5 separate regions of the Homo sapiens genome follow, and regions 2, 3, 4 and 5 are each linked to region 1. Evidence: promoter capture Hi-C in 16 types of primary human blood cells and fetal thymus (Javierre and others, 2016). All regions are on one chromosome and are shown on one strand. Each heading gives the region's core, a stretch centred on a gene start or on the middle of the fragment in contact. The rest is flanking DNA. Distances are from core to core; before and after follow the strand shown. Region 1 holds the start of TOR1B (torsin family 1 member B). Region 2 holds the start of MIR12126 (microRNA 12126). Region 3 overlaps GPR107 (G protein-coupled receptor 107). Region 4 overlaps GPR107 (G protein-coupled receptor 107). Region 5 overlaps GPR107 (G protein-coupled receptor 107).

Region 1 (2,917 bases), core at 245-2,744:
TGTTGGCCAGGCTGGTCTCAAACTCCTGGCCTCAAATGATCCGCCCGCCTCGGCTTCCCCAAAATGCTGGGATTACAGGCGTGAGCCACGGCGCCAGGCCCTTGGCTCCCCATCTTTTAATGGAAATAACATCCCCTACCCCACTGGACTGTTTTGGAACCAAGTAAGAGAAATGTTGTAGGAGAGCTTTGTAACTACCTGGACTAAGTGTGCCTTAACTCAGTGGAGCCGGGGGCTACAGCAACACAAAGGAAAGAGAAGCAGAGGCCAGAGTTAGTGAGCAGGTCACCCGGACCAGTCCGACTGGCCTGCAGACGAGATAATAGCGGGTTCTCTTGCCTGGTACAGTTTTATCTTCTGCTCATGAGGGAAGTGCAGAGTCGATACAAACAGGTGGACAAAGTTACTCTTCAGACCTTTTGGGTGAAGATTTTCAGCCACAATTTGACTGACAAAATTCTTGCCTGTGCCAGCCCAGCCGTGTAAGGAAAGGGTCAGTGGTTTCTTGGGATTTTTGTTGTTCCTGAAGCCAGTCAGCGCCTTGAAAATCACTTCCGTGGCTAGATGCTGTCCAAACAGCTTCTCCTCCAAATCCAGCTTGAGAGCTGCAAGAACAGCCCCAGAACAAAGAGAGAAACAGACCTTAAAAATGCATCAGCAACGCAGCACTTTCTTAGCTGGCCAAAGCAAGAAGCACAGATTATCCAGGGACACAGCAGGGTGTCTGCCACACCCTAGGGCCGAGGCAGTCAAACGATGCCACTTTCAAGATTATGTGGAGGTCCTTAACGCTTCGGGGTCTGATAAGGAAGCTAAATGTTCATTCATTCAGAGATGAACCATCGCTTGACTGAGCGCTTGCTAATCCCAGCCACCCTTGCTGACCTGCAGGAAAACCAGGGGCCAAATGTGGGCTTTCTGGGCGACGCAGCACGTCTGAAAACTACTTAATAGGGTTGGCAGGGCGCAGAAGGGCCGCCCGCCTACTTTCCGTTTCTTCCACCTGTGATCCCAAGGAACGGGAGCTTTAGAAAGGCGCTGGGGCAGCCCCACGATCTGGAGACTGTTTGCGAAGGCACCGCTTCTGCGTTCCCGCGAACGGTTCCGGGGCCGCCCCATCCGCTCCCCGCCCACCCCAGCTGGGACCACCGCCGTCTAGATGCCACGGGCCCGGTCCGTGCCAGGCGCCCACGAGGCCGTCCCTCCGCGCCCCCGCGCCCCCGCGCCCCCCGCAGCGCCGACCCACAGCTCGCGCGCGCGCCGTACCCGAAGCGTTGAGCGGCCGCTCCTCGCGGCAGCACTCGGCGAAGCGGCAGTAGATGTCATTGTAGGACAGGTAGCCGGTGATGGCCGACGCGGCCCCGATGGCTAGGCCCACGGTGATGGGCTCGAACGCCGCCACCACTCGGGCCGCCAGCAGCAGCGCCAGCGCCGCCGCGCCCCGGAGCCACCCAGCCCGCAACATCCCGCTCCTCGAAGCCCGCAGAAGCCACTGAGCCAGGCGCCCCGCGGCCAAGCGGCAGGACGGACTTCCTCTCGTGCGTCACTTCCGCCCCGCAGACCCGCCCACTCCCTTGGGGGCGGCCATGTTGGTGAGGGGCGGAGAGGAGGGCGGTGCCATCGTTCTTGGGAGTGGTCCGAAGGTGTAGGAGACTGTTTTGTTTCCCTTTTCTTTTAAAAAAATTTTTTCGGGCCGGGCGCGGTGGCTCACGCCTGTAATCCCAGGACTTTGGGAGGCCGAGCCGAGATCACGCCATTGCACTCCAGCCTGGGCAACAAGAGTGAAAAAATATCTAAAAAAAAAAAAAAAAATTTTTTTTTTTTGGCCGGGCGCCGTGGCTCACGCCTGTAATCCCAGCACTTTGGGAAGCTGAAGCGGGCGGATCACCTGATGTCAGGAGTTCGAGACCAGCCTGCTCAACGTGGCGAAACCCCGTCTCTACTAAAAATACAAAAAATTAGATGGGTGTGGTGGCGGGCGCCTGTAATCCCAGCTACTCGGGAGGTTGAGGCAGGAGAATCTCTTGAACCCAGGAGGCGGAGGTTGCAGTTAGCCGAGATCGTGCCACTGCACTCCAGCCTGGGCGACAAGAGCGAAACTGTCTCAAAAAAAAAAAAAAAGGCTGGCCGGGCGCGGCGGCTCACGCCTGTAATCCCAGCACTTTGGGAGGCCGAGGCAGGCGGATCACGAGGTCAGGAGATCAAGACCATCCTGGCTAACACAGTGAAATCCCATCACTACGAAAAATAGAAAAAATCAGCCGGGCATGGTGGCGGGCGCCTGTAGTCCCAGCTACTCGGGAGGCTGAGGCAGGAGAATGGCGTGAACCTGGGAGGCGGAGCTTGCAGTGAGCCGAGATCGTGCCACTGCACTCCAGCCTGGACGACAGAGCGAGACTCCGTCTCAAAAAAAACAAAAAAAAGCCAAAAAAAATTTTTTTAAACTTTCTTATATTTTTTTCTTATCTGATATGTATATTGGGGACAGGGTCTGGCTCTGTCGCCCCGGCTGGAGCGCAGTGGCAGGATCTCGGCTCGCTGCAAACTCTTCCTCCCAGGTTCAAGCGATTCTCCCATCTCAGCTGCTGGAGTAGCTGGGATTATAGGTGCCCGCCAACACGCCCAGCCAACTTTTGTGTTTTTAGTAGAGACGGGGTTTCGCCATGTGGCCCAAGCTGGTCTCGAACTCCTGACCTCAAGCGATCTACCTGCCTCCGTCTTCCAAAGCCTGGGGTTACAGGAGTGGGCTTATGGCTGGATTTGTTTTCTTCAGAGCTTCTCGGAGCCCTCAAGCTTTGCTTTGTTATCCCTCCCTTCACTTCGCCGGAGGTATAATGTGCGTTTCTTGGGTCGGCCCACCCGCCTGCCTTCTTCCTGAAACAGTTGCGAACTCTCCGTGCTGCGCCCTAGACTGAGC
Region 2 (2,917 bases), core at 306-2,805, 440 kb before region 1:
GCTCACTGCAGCCTCGACCTCACTATGCCCAAGCAATTCTCTCATCTCAGCCTCCTGAGTAGCTGGGACTGCAGGTGAGTGCCACCATGCCTGGCTAATTTTTTTGTATTTTGTAGAGATGGGGTTTTGCCATGTTGCCCAGGCTGGTCTCGAACTCCTGACCTCAAGTGATCCACCCACCTCGGCCTCCCAAAGTGCAGGAATTGCAGGCATGAGCCACCGCCCCCGGCCTTCCTTCTTGAACCAGGCTAGCATTCATCACAGGCTGTGGCAGAAGCCTGGCACTGTGGCTGCCCAGCATATACACTCCAGGCTCTCATTCATCCCTGTGGAAATGGGTGAAGGATTCTGGTTAGCTTTAGGCTTCTGCCTAGAAATCACTTAAGCAGCATCCAGCTTGTATTAGTTGATCTGATGGACGAGCATGGGGGTAGAATCCGAACCTCAGGGTTCCCTCTGATTCCCTTCCCATGACTGGGAGCTCCCTTTGTTTTTTGCTTTTTGTTTTTTTTGAGATGGAGTCTCGTTCTGTCACCCGGGCTGGAGTGCAGTGGTGTGATCTCGGCCCACTGCAACCTCCACCTCCTGGGTTCAAGCGGTTCTCCTGCCTCAGCCTCCCGACTACCTGAGATTACAGGCACACGCCACCATGCCCAGCTAATTTTTGTATTTTTGGTAGAGGTGGAGTTTCACCATGTTGACCAGGCTGGTCTCGAACTCCTGGCTTCAAGTGATCCGCCTGTCTCAGCCTCCCAAAGTGCTGGGATTACAGGCGTGAGCCACCACGTCTGGCCTGGGAGCTCCCTTTCTCCCTCCTTCCAGGCCAGCACTTGCACCTTCCCCTGCAGGTCCCAGCTCGGGCCCCTGGCATTCCACAGATCTGCCCCTTCTAAGGCAGGAAGGGCCTCTTGATGCCCAACATAGGAATTGGGTCTTCAGAATCCTCAAAGAATAAAGTGGGCACTCCACAATATCACAAAGACTTCCCCTCACCTCTGGGGGCAACCAACAGTCCAGTGACTAAAACGGGACCTACTCTCAGTCATCTGACAATGATACCAAAGGGACTCTTCCCACCCTTCTCCCTGACTGTCAGAAAAAAGCTTGTTTTACTCTTTATCATATTTTTTTATCCCCAAGATCTGCTCATGTGGATGGCTTATTTTAGGTTTCTGGGAGGAAGGGAGCAATTTCTGAGGAAGGAAATTGTAGAGACAAGAAAAGGTCTGGTCCCCAAGTCTTGAAACCCCTGGCAGAATCCTTCCTGAGCTCAACCCTAGGCCAGCCTGCCCAGTCCCCTTCCTGTGGTTACCCAGTGAAAACCCAACTGGCCCGGTCCTCAGGGGCTGCCCTGGGCTCCCCAATAACCTAGAGCCTCTAGGTCCCTAGTGCTTCTGCAAAAGAAAGTCTTTCCCACAGGAGTCCCTCTGGCTGGGACCCTCAGTCCCCTGAGCCCTTGGAGGAGGAGGGCATATTGGGACAGGAAGAGGGAAAAGGCAGAAGACGGGTGGGAAAGGCATGAGCAAGCAGTAGTTACACCAGCACATGGCACTGTATGGTTGTTTATTAAGTCACTTTGGCAAACATTGAGAGTTTCGATGCAAACATTTGCAGGTGGCATCAGGTCATTGAAAGCGACCCAGCAGATCACTGGGTACATTAGGGAGAATATAAATTGGGCTGTTGACACAGAGACTCAGGATGGCTTAATCAAGATAAATGTGTGTCTCTCTTCCTCCTAAGAGCTCCAGTGTAAATGGTCCAAAGCTGGTGTGGCAGCTCCATGGGGTCAAAGACCCAGTTCTAGGAAGGCTTGTTTCAGAGTCCTCCATCCAGTCAGCAGGAAGAGGGAAGAGGGAAAGTTATGCTCATTGTTCTCATCCTATTGGATAGAACTGGGTCACATGGCCGCACTCAGCCACAAGGGAGGCTGGGAAATGTAGTCCTTTGTTCCACATGGCCCTGTGCCCAGCTAAAAAGAGATAAGGGGAAGAAGTAGAAAGCTTTTCCATACCTACACAAGCTCATTTTGCCTAAGTTCAGGGGGCCTTCCCAGCCCCTTTCCATGCCCACTGTCCTGAACCAGTTCCTCCAGACCAATGAACCTGGAGGGTAAGTTTCTGCCTCTGTACTCCCTGGGCAGGAAGATGGCAGGGAGGAGGGGGCCACTGTAGGGCAGGGATCCACATTGCATTCCCACTCCCAGCCCGACTCCCTACTCTTCTCCTTGTCATCTCCTCTGTATGCCTGGGGATGCCCTGAGCTGGGCTTTGGGGAGTACAATTTAGAGAGATACTTTCTAATATGCAGATGTGAGTTTGGGGCTTGGCAGGGTCAGTGGGGACAGGGTGGAAGGCCCGAGGTGGGGAGAAATGGGACCTCTAGGATGGTCCCTCTAGGAGGACTCACTGGTGCTATCACACCCAGGGAATAGCAGCCAATCTGAGCCATCCTGATAAAGCAGGTGGCCAGGTCTGTGCCTCTACTGAGCTTCAGCCCACAGTAAGCCATCCAGCGCAGGCTGGGCCAGGGGGTGAGTCAGCACAGGCTTTAGCCTGACTCGAGCAGAGCAAGGGACCATGACCCATCATGTGCCCTCAGCAACACCATTTCTGAACCGTGGTCCCTGTAGGCACCACGCCCAAGGCTGCTGGAAAAGACCTGAGCTTCCTCCACCAACAGCTCACCCCCGTTCAAGCTCACCCTCTGCTGGAAACATTGCCCCAGCTGCCCTCACAACGGCCTTCTGAACCAGAGCTTGGTATTTCCAAAGACAGGCGCCCGTGCACAGATTTACTTTCAGTGCTTCGGTGGAAACAGCACATTGTGTGGGTATGTAAATTACCTCCAATCTCTGCCTCAGGGACAGTCCCCAAGTGTGTGAAACAGTCTAGTCAGGAATCAGCCCTCCAGAGGG
Region 3 (2,917 bases), core at 139-2,638, 310 kb before region 1:
GGTTCAAGCAATCCTTCTACCTCAGCTTCTCGAGTAGCTGGGATTACAGGTGTGCGCTACCACGCTCAGCTAATTTTTGTATTTTTAGTAGAGACAGGGTTTTACCATGTTGGCCAGGCTGGTCTCGAACTCCTGACCTCAACTGATCCGTTTGCCTCCGCCTCCCAAAGTGCTGGGATTACAGGCATAAGCCACTGTGCCTGGCCCCAAAATAAAAAACCTCTTTTCTAAAAAAAAAAAATGAAAAAAAAAAAAAAAAAAAAGAATGAGAAGACCAGAATTATTTTTGTAATTCTCTTTAATGTCTAGCTTAATAACATGCAGCTGGGTTCTCATATTTGATTCAATCAGCATTCAACTTGCTGTGAGGGAGTATTTGGTGAAAATATATGAAGAAAATCTGGCCCCATACAGATAGATGTAGGCCTTTTCAGATTACTGTGAATAGTCTGTGATTCTACATTAAAACCTGACAAGAGGTTGCTTCTAAAGATGAGGGAGGTGGGGAATCTGAAATTTATCAATGAACTTTCCACACTCTTACATTAATAAACTCCACTGGTCCATCCTGCACTTTCAGGAGAGCTTTTACCCCCATGCATGACTATGGAACATCCTGCACTGGCCAGGTGGAAGACAATGTTTCAGTGTGTTATGTAGATCTCCCAGATACAGAAACATTTTATTATAGAATTCTTAAAAAAATCACATTGTTAGTATCACCTCTGCTTACATCATAAGTCTTATAAGAACTGGGAAACTGGCCGGGTGTGGTGGCTCACACCTATAATCCCAGCACTTTGGGAGGCCGAGGTGGGTGGATCACTTGAGGTCAGAGTTTGAGACCAGCTTGGGCAACAAATTGAGACCCCGTCTCTACAAAAAATATAAGAATTAGCCGGGCATGGTGGAAAGACCTGTAGTCCCACCTACTCAGGAGGCTGCAGTGGGAGGCTCACTTGAGCCCAGGAGGTCAAGGCTGCAGTGAGCTGAGATTGTGCCATTGCACTCCAGCCTGACTCAAGGAAAAAAAAAAAAAAAAAAAAAGATCTGGGAAACTGTCAGTTAGGAAACTGTCAGGCTGACAGGGATAAACACAAGTTTTCTTTTATCACTGGCAACAAATACTATTAGTTGTTTTTGTTGAAGTAATATGTTCACTTTGTTCATTTTCAAGAAAATGTCCACCACAAACCCATGTCTGTGTCACCATAACAGTCATTCTTCCAGATAAAAGCAGCTTGGCCAGGCACAGTGGCTCATGCCTGTTATCTCAGTACTCTGGGAGGCCTAGGTGGGTGGATCACTTGAGCTCAGGAGTTTGAGACTAGCCTGGGCAATATGACAAAATCCTATCTCTACAAAAAATACAAAAATTAGCCAGGCATAGCAGCACACGCCTGTAGTCCTAGCTACTTTGAGGGCTGAGGTGAGAGGATCGGTTGGGCCCAGGAGGTTGAGGCTGCAGTAAGCCAAGATTACACCACTGGACTCCAGCCTGGGCAACAGTGCAAGACCCTGTCTCAAAAAAATAAATAAATAAAAAACAACAAAAAAATAAAATAAAAGCAGCTAGTTCAGCTTGCAATTCAAACAAGTGCACACGTACTTTCCCTCAAGGCCACACCCATCACACTTCAGGCCCAGCAGCAGTGCTGTGTGCACACCTCCCATGCTGTCTCACAGAATATTAAAAGGCAAGGGTTGAGATTTAATCACATCAACAGTTTTATTATTTCAAGACCATTCTTAAGTGATATGAGCCTTTTTCACCCCCTGTGAGTAGGTGACAGTAAAGAATGCAGTGGCTACTGGCAGATTCTGGTACCACAGCCTGGAATCACGTGACGGTGCCGGCAATTTCACCCATCATTGCTTTTCACCATCAGGCAAATGTCAACAGCACAAGAGACTCACACCGTATGATTATGAAAATAGTTTTGATCCCGAGGACCCCCTTGAGAACCGCTGCCCTAACAAATGCCTCGCATGGTCGCGGCTCCTTTCAGAGCACGGCGGCACCTCGGAATGAAGCCGTTCCTCCATCAACTCTGCAGCCAGCCAACCGGGATTGTTTAAATACTTCTGAAGCTCACATGAAAGCTAAGGCTCTTCAGAATACATCTTCTGACTTTTCCTCAGAAACACAAGGCCCAAAAAAAGGATGGTGAGCAGCAGAGACTGTTAATTAAATTTACGGTGTGTATCTCGACGCCAGTCCTATAAGGTAATGACACTGGAGAAAGAGAAGGGAACGCGGATGCGGGCTCAAGGGCAGTCAGAGCCAGTAAATCTTAGCAGGCGAGACAGAGTGGAGCCAGCGCTAGGTGTGTCTGTGCGAGACTCAATTAAGCTCCCTCTCGGAGGATGCAGTGCAGCTGTGAGTCTCAGTGACCGAGGACCTGAGAGAAGCCACTGCGCGTGACAGGAGAGACAAAGACGCGGCTAAAGGACAGTGGGCAGCTTCGGCCTCAATGCTTTCCTTTAGATTTCCCTCAGGTTTGGTCAAAAGGAATCCAGAGACAACAAAGTAAAAGCCAAACAAACACTCTCTGAAAGCTGTATTCACCCCAAAACTGAAAACTGTATTCACCCCAAAACTGAAAGCTGTATTCACCCCAAAACGGAAAGCTGTATTCACCCCAATGCAGGAAGGAAAACTACAAATGGCATGTCTCTCACTTGCAGTTACTGGGCCTGGACTGCACCTAAACTAAAAATGAGATTCTTTGCCATAGTGTTTTGTTGTTGTTGTTGTTTTGAGATAGGGTCTGGCTCTGTTGCCCAAGCTGGAGTACAGTGGTACAATCTCAGCTCACTGTAGCCTTGATCTCCTGGGCTCAAGTGATCTTCTCACCTCACCCTCCCAAGTAGCTGGGACTACAGGCGTGTGCCATCAAGCCCCGATAATTTTTGT
Region 4 (2,917 bases), core at 116-2,615, 290 kb before region 1:
GTGACTGTGCCATTGCACTCCAGACTGGGTGACAGAGCGAGTCCCTGTCTCAAAACGGTCTCAAAACAAACAAAAATTAAGCCAGGAGTGGTGGTGCGTCCCTATAGTTTCAGCTATTCGGGAGGCTGAGGTGGGAGGATCACTTGAGCTCAGGAGTTTGAGGCTGCTGTAAGCCTTGATTACGCCACTGCTCCAGCCTGGACAACTTAGTGAGACCCTGTCTCAAAAAAAAAAAAAAAAACCCAAAGAATACAGGCAGCCACAAGAGGGGAAATGGTTAAGTCTCTAAAATGATAATCCACATCACCAATATTCAGAGAAACGCAAAATAAAGCAAGATACCACTTTACACCTATCAGATTGGCAAAAATTAAGATGTCAGTATTGGTAAGAATGTGGAGAAACAGCAAACCTTATTATGTATGCACCACTGGTAGACGTATAAACCTATATGCCACACTGGAAGGCAATCTGGCCCTTAACGAAATTAACTGATGGCTGGGCGCAGTGGCTCATGCCTGTAGTCCCAGCACTTTGGGAGGCCGAGGCGGGAGGATCTCTTGAGGCCAGGAGTTCAAGACCTGCTTGGCCAACACAGTGAAAACCCGTCTCTACTAAAAATACAAAAATTAGCCCGGCATGGGCGTACATGCCTATAGTCCCAGCTACTCAGGAGGGTGAGGCAGGAGAATCGCTTGCACTCAGGAGGTGGAGGTTGCAATGAGCCAAGATGGTGCCACTGCACTCCAGCTTGGGTGACAGAGTGAGACTCTGTCTCAAAAAAAAAAAAAAAAAGAAAAAAAAGAAAAGTAAAGAAAAGAAATTAACTACCCATGGCACAGTGTGCTTCCTTCTGGGACTGCAGCTCGGAGGCTGCACAGATCCACAGGGGATCTTTGGAGGTACATGCCAGCACTGGCTGAGGTAGCAGGGAGATGTAGGCAGTCCAGGCGTGTGTCTATCACTAAAGGACCAAAGCAGTCAAACGTGAGGACACAGAGCATGGGATGCTGTGGAGTAGGTAAAAATCAATGAATGAGATGCACACTCAGCCACATGGCTAGATCGCAGAAAGGATAATACTGAGTAAAAAATGTACAACAACGTCTATAGATATTTTATGTAAACTTAAAATAAATGCAACACCAGTAAACAGTACTTATCTATAAGAATATAGAAATATCCAAAAATCAGGCCAGACGCAGTGGCTCACGCCTGTAATCCCAGCACTTTGGGAGGCCGATCACCTGAGGTCAGGAATTCTAGACCAGCCTGGCCAACGTAGTGAAACCCCGTCTCTACGAAAAATACAAAAATTAGCCGGGCATGGTGGCAGGCGCCTGTAGTCCCAGCTACTCGGGAGGCTGAAGCACGAGAATTGCTTGACCCGGGAGGCGGAGGTTGCAGTGAGCTGAGATTGCACCACTGCACTCCAGCCTGGGGCACAGAGTGAGACGAGGTCTCAAAAAAAAAAAAAAAAAAGTCCAAAAATGTATATGCAACACATTTGAGCAGTTCTCCACTACTGGGAAGGAGTGGGAGAGGGGACAGGAAATGAAGGGGAACAATAGAGCAGGAGAGGGGCCTGGCACCAAGTGAGAATGAGAGTGTACCACAAAGGGATATCAGTTTCTGGGCTCATTTCCTCCCTGGTACTTTCCTGTTCCAGTGCCCACCTACTTGAAGGTCAAAAGGGAAGTCAAGGCCAGAATAGCCTGGAACTACTGAATGCCAATGAGATTTACCCAGAGTGTAAAACCACCCACCACAAAGAGCTGTGCTCATTCACACTCTGGCAACCTTGACTTGCAGTCCATGGTTAGAATATCTACGATGGGGCAGAGATGTGATGGAAAGAATACTCACTGACCTCGGCTCAAATACTAGTTCTACCTACACTTGAAGTTGGGAGGGGCCTGATACATACTAGCAAGCAGACCCGAGTTCCAGTCCCAGGTCTGTTGGGTGACACTGGCTCTCGTTTCCCCTCTCTGGGCCTCAATAAATGAGGCAAAGATCTCTTAGTCGTTTCCAGCTTTCAGGGGCCAGTGAAATGCGCCTGGCGGCCTTGGTCATATGCCTTTATATCATGTGGGTTTCCAGCCTACCAGAACTGACTCTAAGACTCCCGGGAAAACATGGGCAGGACTTAACTGACCTTCCCCCATGCACACTATACTCCAACAAAAATTACAGATGAGACTTGTACACAATAGGTCAGCCTCATTTAACCACAGATTGAAAACTGTGTTATCACGGTCTGGGTGCACTGGCTCATGCTGGTAATCCCAGCACAATGGGAGGCCAAGGCAGGTGGATCACGAAGTAAAGAGATCAAGACCATCCCAGCCAACATGGTGAAACCCCGTCTCTACTAAAAATACAAAAATAAGCCAGGCATGGTGGCGGACGCCTGTAGTCCCAGCTACTTGGGAGGCTGAGGCAGAAGAATCACTCAAACCCAGAAGGCAGAGGTTGCAGTGAGCCAAGATTGCACCACTGCACTCCAGCCTGGCGACAGAGCGAGACTCTGTCTCAAAAAAAATAAAATAAAGAAAACTGTTACCACAATTTGATACAAGTGAACCAGTGACAATGACTATTGCCACCAATAACTAAAGGAAAATTAAAACACCACTGAACCCCTGGCTACTAAACTATTTTATAAACACCTCATGTTTGGATTGCGCCCTGATTTGCAAAGCCCTCTCATACACATTATCTTAGGGAGAATCACACAACATGTCTAAGAATCCAAGACTCTTACAGGAAGGCAGAGTAACTATTACTGTCCCAGTTTCATAGCCAAGAAAAAAAGAGATTTACAGTGAAGCAAGGCACACAGGCAGTCACTGTCCAAGTTCACACCTGAAATCAGGTCTGACTCCTAGTTCTTACTTTTCCAGTAAAGGCAAAA
Region 5 (2,917 bases), core at 221-2,720, 280 kb before region 1:
AAAATTAGCCGGGCATGGTGGCGGGCGCCTGTAGTCCCAGCTACTTGGGAGGCTGAGGCAGGAGAATGGCGTGAACCCGGGAGGCGGAGCTTGCAGTGAGCCGAGATTGCGCCACTGTACTCCAGCCTGGGCGACAGAGCGAGACTCCGTCTCAAAAAATAAATAAATAAATAAATAAATAAATAAATAAACAGGAATACCTTTTTTGCCTTTCATTTTAGGATTTTGTTTTTTGAAAAGAAAATACCCCATATTGGCTAGGACATGATAATGTGCCCACTATTCCTACATATTTCTGATAAGAATATAAATCCACACAACTCATTTGGAAAGGAATTTAAAAATATACATCAATATTCTCAAATGCATTCATATCCTTTGAACCAGAAATTGCAATTCTGAAAACCATCTTAAAGAACGTTCGCTATACGAAGACAGTTCTATGCATAAAGAAGTCCACTGCAGCAATATTCATAATCACACAAAAATGGAAATGTGTCTCCTTAAGGGGAAAGGTTGAGCAAATTACAGTATCTGCTTAACAGGATATATGATAGGTATGAAATGGGCTAAAAAGTAATCAGGCATGTATATAAAATTATAAGCATGACTGAATTTTAAAAATCAAATGTTCTAGACTTATGAAACAAGCTTATAAGAAAACATAAATTACTAAAATTCTAACACTGGGAATAAGGAGAAATGACTGTTGTTTTTCCATCTGCTTCAGATTTTCCACATTTTTCTTTAACATTTACGTATTTTTGTGTAACTTCCAAAATATAATGCTAAGACGACAACAGATCATGTTTTACTTTTACTTTTAATTAGGAACAAAAAAGCTACAAAGCAGGTAGTGAAAACTGAAAGCCAGTTTCCACCTTACGGTTTACCTTGTGTCTTCTGGGTCTGGTTGCCTGCTGAAGCAGGGTTAACATTAGGCTCCTGGCTCTGACCAAGGACTTTCTCATCCCTGCTGAAGATGATCTTTGGTAACTGGGTACCAGCTTCTGGTGGAGACTTTACTCTTACCCTACATTCAAATAAGACAGAAGGAAAAAAGGTCAAAGCAGTGCTCCTGGCCACTGAGCACGCTGCGTGTAGGCCCTGTGCCAAGCTCATGCAGTCCTTATCATGTTCTACAATGTAGATTCTATTATCCACATTCTACAGATACCAAAACTGAGGCTCAGAAACGTTAAATAACTTGCCCAAGGGCACCAAGCTAGGAAGTAGTTGGACGAGGATCCAGGTAGTCTCTCTTAAGCCTAAGATCTTAGTAACCACACAATTCTGAGGTACATCTTTCTCCTTAAGTATCGTTAAAATGCTCAGCAAATTGGTGCACAAGAGAAACGGACAAAATGTAAAACATCAGTAAGACTTTAAAGTGAAATCCAGGCCAGGCATGGTGGCTCACGCCTGTAATCTCAGCACTTTGGGAGGCTGAGGCGGGTGGATCACTTGAGGTCAGGAATTCAGGAACAGCCTGGCCAACATGGCAAAACCCTGTCTCTACTAAAATTACAAAAAAAAACTGGCCGGGTGTGTTGGCATGCACCTGTAATCCCAGCTACTTGGGAGGCTAAGGCAGGAGAATCGCTTGAACCTGGGAGGTGGAGGATGCAATGAGCCAAGATCGTGCCACTGCACTCCAGCCTGGGCCACAGAGCGAGACCCCGTCTCAAAAAATAAAGAAAGCAAGTGAAATCCAGGGAAGCACGAGAGGGCAGTGGCACTGTTAGTTGCCTCCTAATATCCATTTCCACCCTTCCCCCTTCTCATGAGACCCAATTTTGTTTACCCCATCCCACCCAGGAGGGGCCAGTGACAGTTCCCATGACTGAGTGGATGCCCAACCTAAGCTGGCACATTCAAGCACTTCTCATTCTACCTGGAGGAGGAGCCTGCTCTCTGTCCCTTGGCTGGATATGAATGATGGAGCAGAGCCACCTTGTGATGGCTGGGAAACCTGCCTGAGGAAGAAGCTAACACTCAGGATGGCAGAGCAGAAAGATGAAATGCACCAGAGTCCCTAACATCAGCAAGCCACCGCAGGCCTGTCTCTCGCCTGCCCCACTGCACATAGGTGAGGTAATCAATGTCTTCACTATTCACGCCAGAGTCTAAGTCAAGTCTTTTGTTGCTTGCTTCCAAAAGTAGACTGACCAATACAGGAGACTGTCAGATCAATCTTCTTAAATGAAAACAGAGGTTATCACGGAGAATATTTTAAAAGTTAGGGTCTACAATGGTTTTATGACAAAGCATTTTTTTTTTAGAAGCTTATTCATTAGTCTTCTTACCTCCAGTCTTGTTCATCTCAAATCCATCCTCTTCTGGGCTGCTAGGAGTCTACCTTACAGGCAAGTCTGAGCACATGATTCCTACCTTAAAGGCTCCCTCAGCAATTACAAAGTACGCAGTTGGAAGTATGCTGAACTTGAAAACACAAAGTCTGATAATTCATCAAAGTTCAACATTTTTTTTTTTTTTTTGAGACGGAGTCTCACTCTCTCACCCAGGCTGGAGTGCAGTGGCGCGATCTCGGCTCACCGCAAGCTCCGCCTCCTGGGTTCACACCATTCTCCTGTCTCAGCCTCCCGAATAGCTGGGACTACAGGCGCCCACCACCACGCCCGGCTAATTTTTTGTATTTTTAGTAGAGACGGGGTTTCACTGTTTTAGCCAGGATGGTCTCAATCTCCTGACCTCGTGATCCGTCCGCCTCGGCCTCCCAAAGGGCTGGGATTACAGGCATGAGCCACCATGCCCGGCCTCAACATTTTCAAAGAGGCTGAATTGTCAGAAATCCTCACCAACAATCTCATGAGGCAGATACCATCATCACGAAGTAGGTAAGGACACTGAGGCCCGGAGTCACAGGGCTGGTGAGTGGCAGAAGCCATTACGTGGA

Evidence for each region. The method cuts DNA at HindIII sites, captures the fragments that hold promoters and counts their contacts. A CHiCAGO score of 5 or more calls a contact.
Region 2: a fragment that was not itself captured here is called in contact with the fragment with the promoter of TOR1B in region 1 in 4 of 17 cell types (megakaryocytes, activated CD4 T cells, erythroblasts and 1 more); the score reaches 6.1 in megakaryocytes.
Region 3: a fragment that was not itself captured here is called in contact with the fragment with the promoter of TOR1B in region 1 in 1 of 17 cell types (megakaryocytes); the score reaches 6.2 in megakaryocytes.
Region 4: a contact is called between a fragment that was not itself captured here and the fragment with the promoter of TOR1B in region 1, in 8 of 17 cell types (total CD4 T cells, naive CD8 T cells, megakaryocytes and 5 more). The highest score is 7.8, in total CD4 T cells.
Region 5: a contact is called between a fragment that was not itself captured here and the fragment with the promoter of TOR1B in region 1, in 6 of 17 cell types (total CD4 T cells, total CD8 T cells, naive CD8 T cells and 3 more). The highest score is 7.4, in total CD4 T cells.

The regions. Positions count from the first base shown.
Region 1 is chr9:129,801,761-129,804,677 of GRCh38, reverse strand. It overlaps TOR1B (torsin family 1 member B), which reads right to left and starts at 1,494. Exons shown (of 5, transcript NM_014506.3): 1 at 1,267-1,494; 2 at 340-605. The coding sequence starts at 1,465. RefSeq lists silencers at 1,105-1,224, 1,285-1,414. The HindIII fragment of the contact is 11,148 bases long and covers 1-2,795 here.
Region 2 is chr9:130,239,774-130,242,690 of GRCh38, reverse strand. MIR12126 (microRNA 12126) reads right to left here and starts at 1,304; the gene lies at 1,203-1,304. RefSeq lists enhancers at 1,767-2,061, 2,583-2,762, 2,843-2,917. The HindIII fragment of the contact is 900 bases long and covers 1,106-2,005 here.
Region 3 is chr9:130,111,376-130,114,292 of GRCh38, reverse strand. The region is part of intron 14 of GPR107 (G protein-coupled receptor 107); the gene reads right to left. Among named protein-coding and RNA genes, the nearest start is that of GPRACR, 31 kb to the left of the region's middle. The HindIII fragment of the contact is 3,979 bases long and covers 1-2,917 here.
Region 4 is chr9:130,095,034-130,097,950 of GRCh38, reverse strand. The region is part of intron 9 of GPR107 (G protein-coupled receptor 107); the gene reads right to left. Among named protein-coding and RNA genes, the nearest start is that of GPR107, 43 kb to the right of the region's middle. The HindIII fragment of the contact is 8,854 bases long and covers 1-2,917 here.
Region 5 is chr9:130,077,746-130,080,662 of GRCh38, reverse strand. GPR107 (G protein-coupled receptor 107) reads right to left here. Exons shown (of 18, transcript NM_020960.5): 5 at 894-1,033. Among named protein-coding and RNA genes, the nearest start is that of GPR107, 25 kb to the right of the region's middle. The HindIII fragment of the contact is 1,634 bases long and covers 654-2,287 here.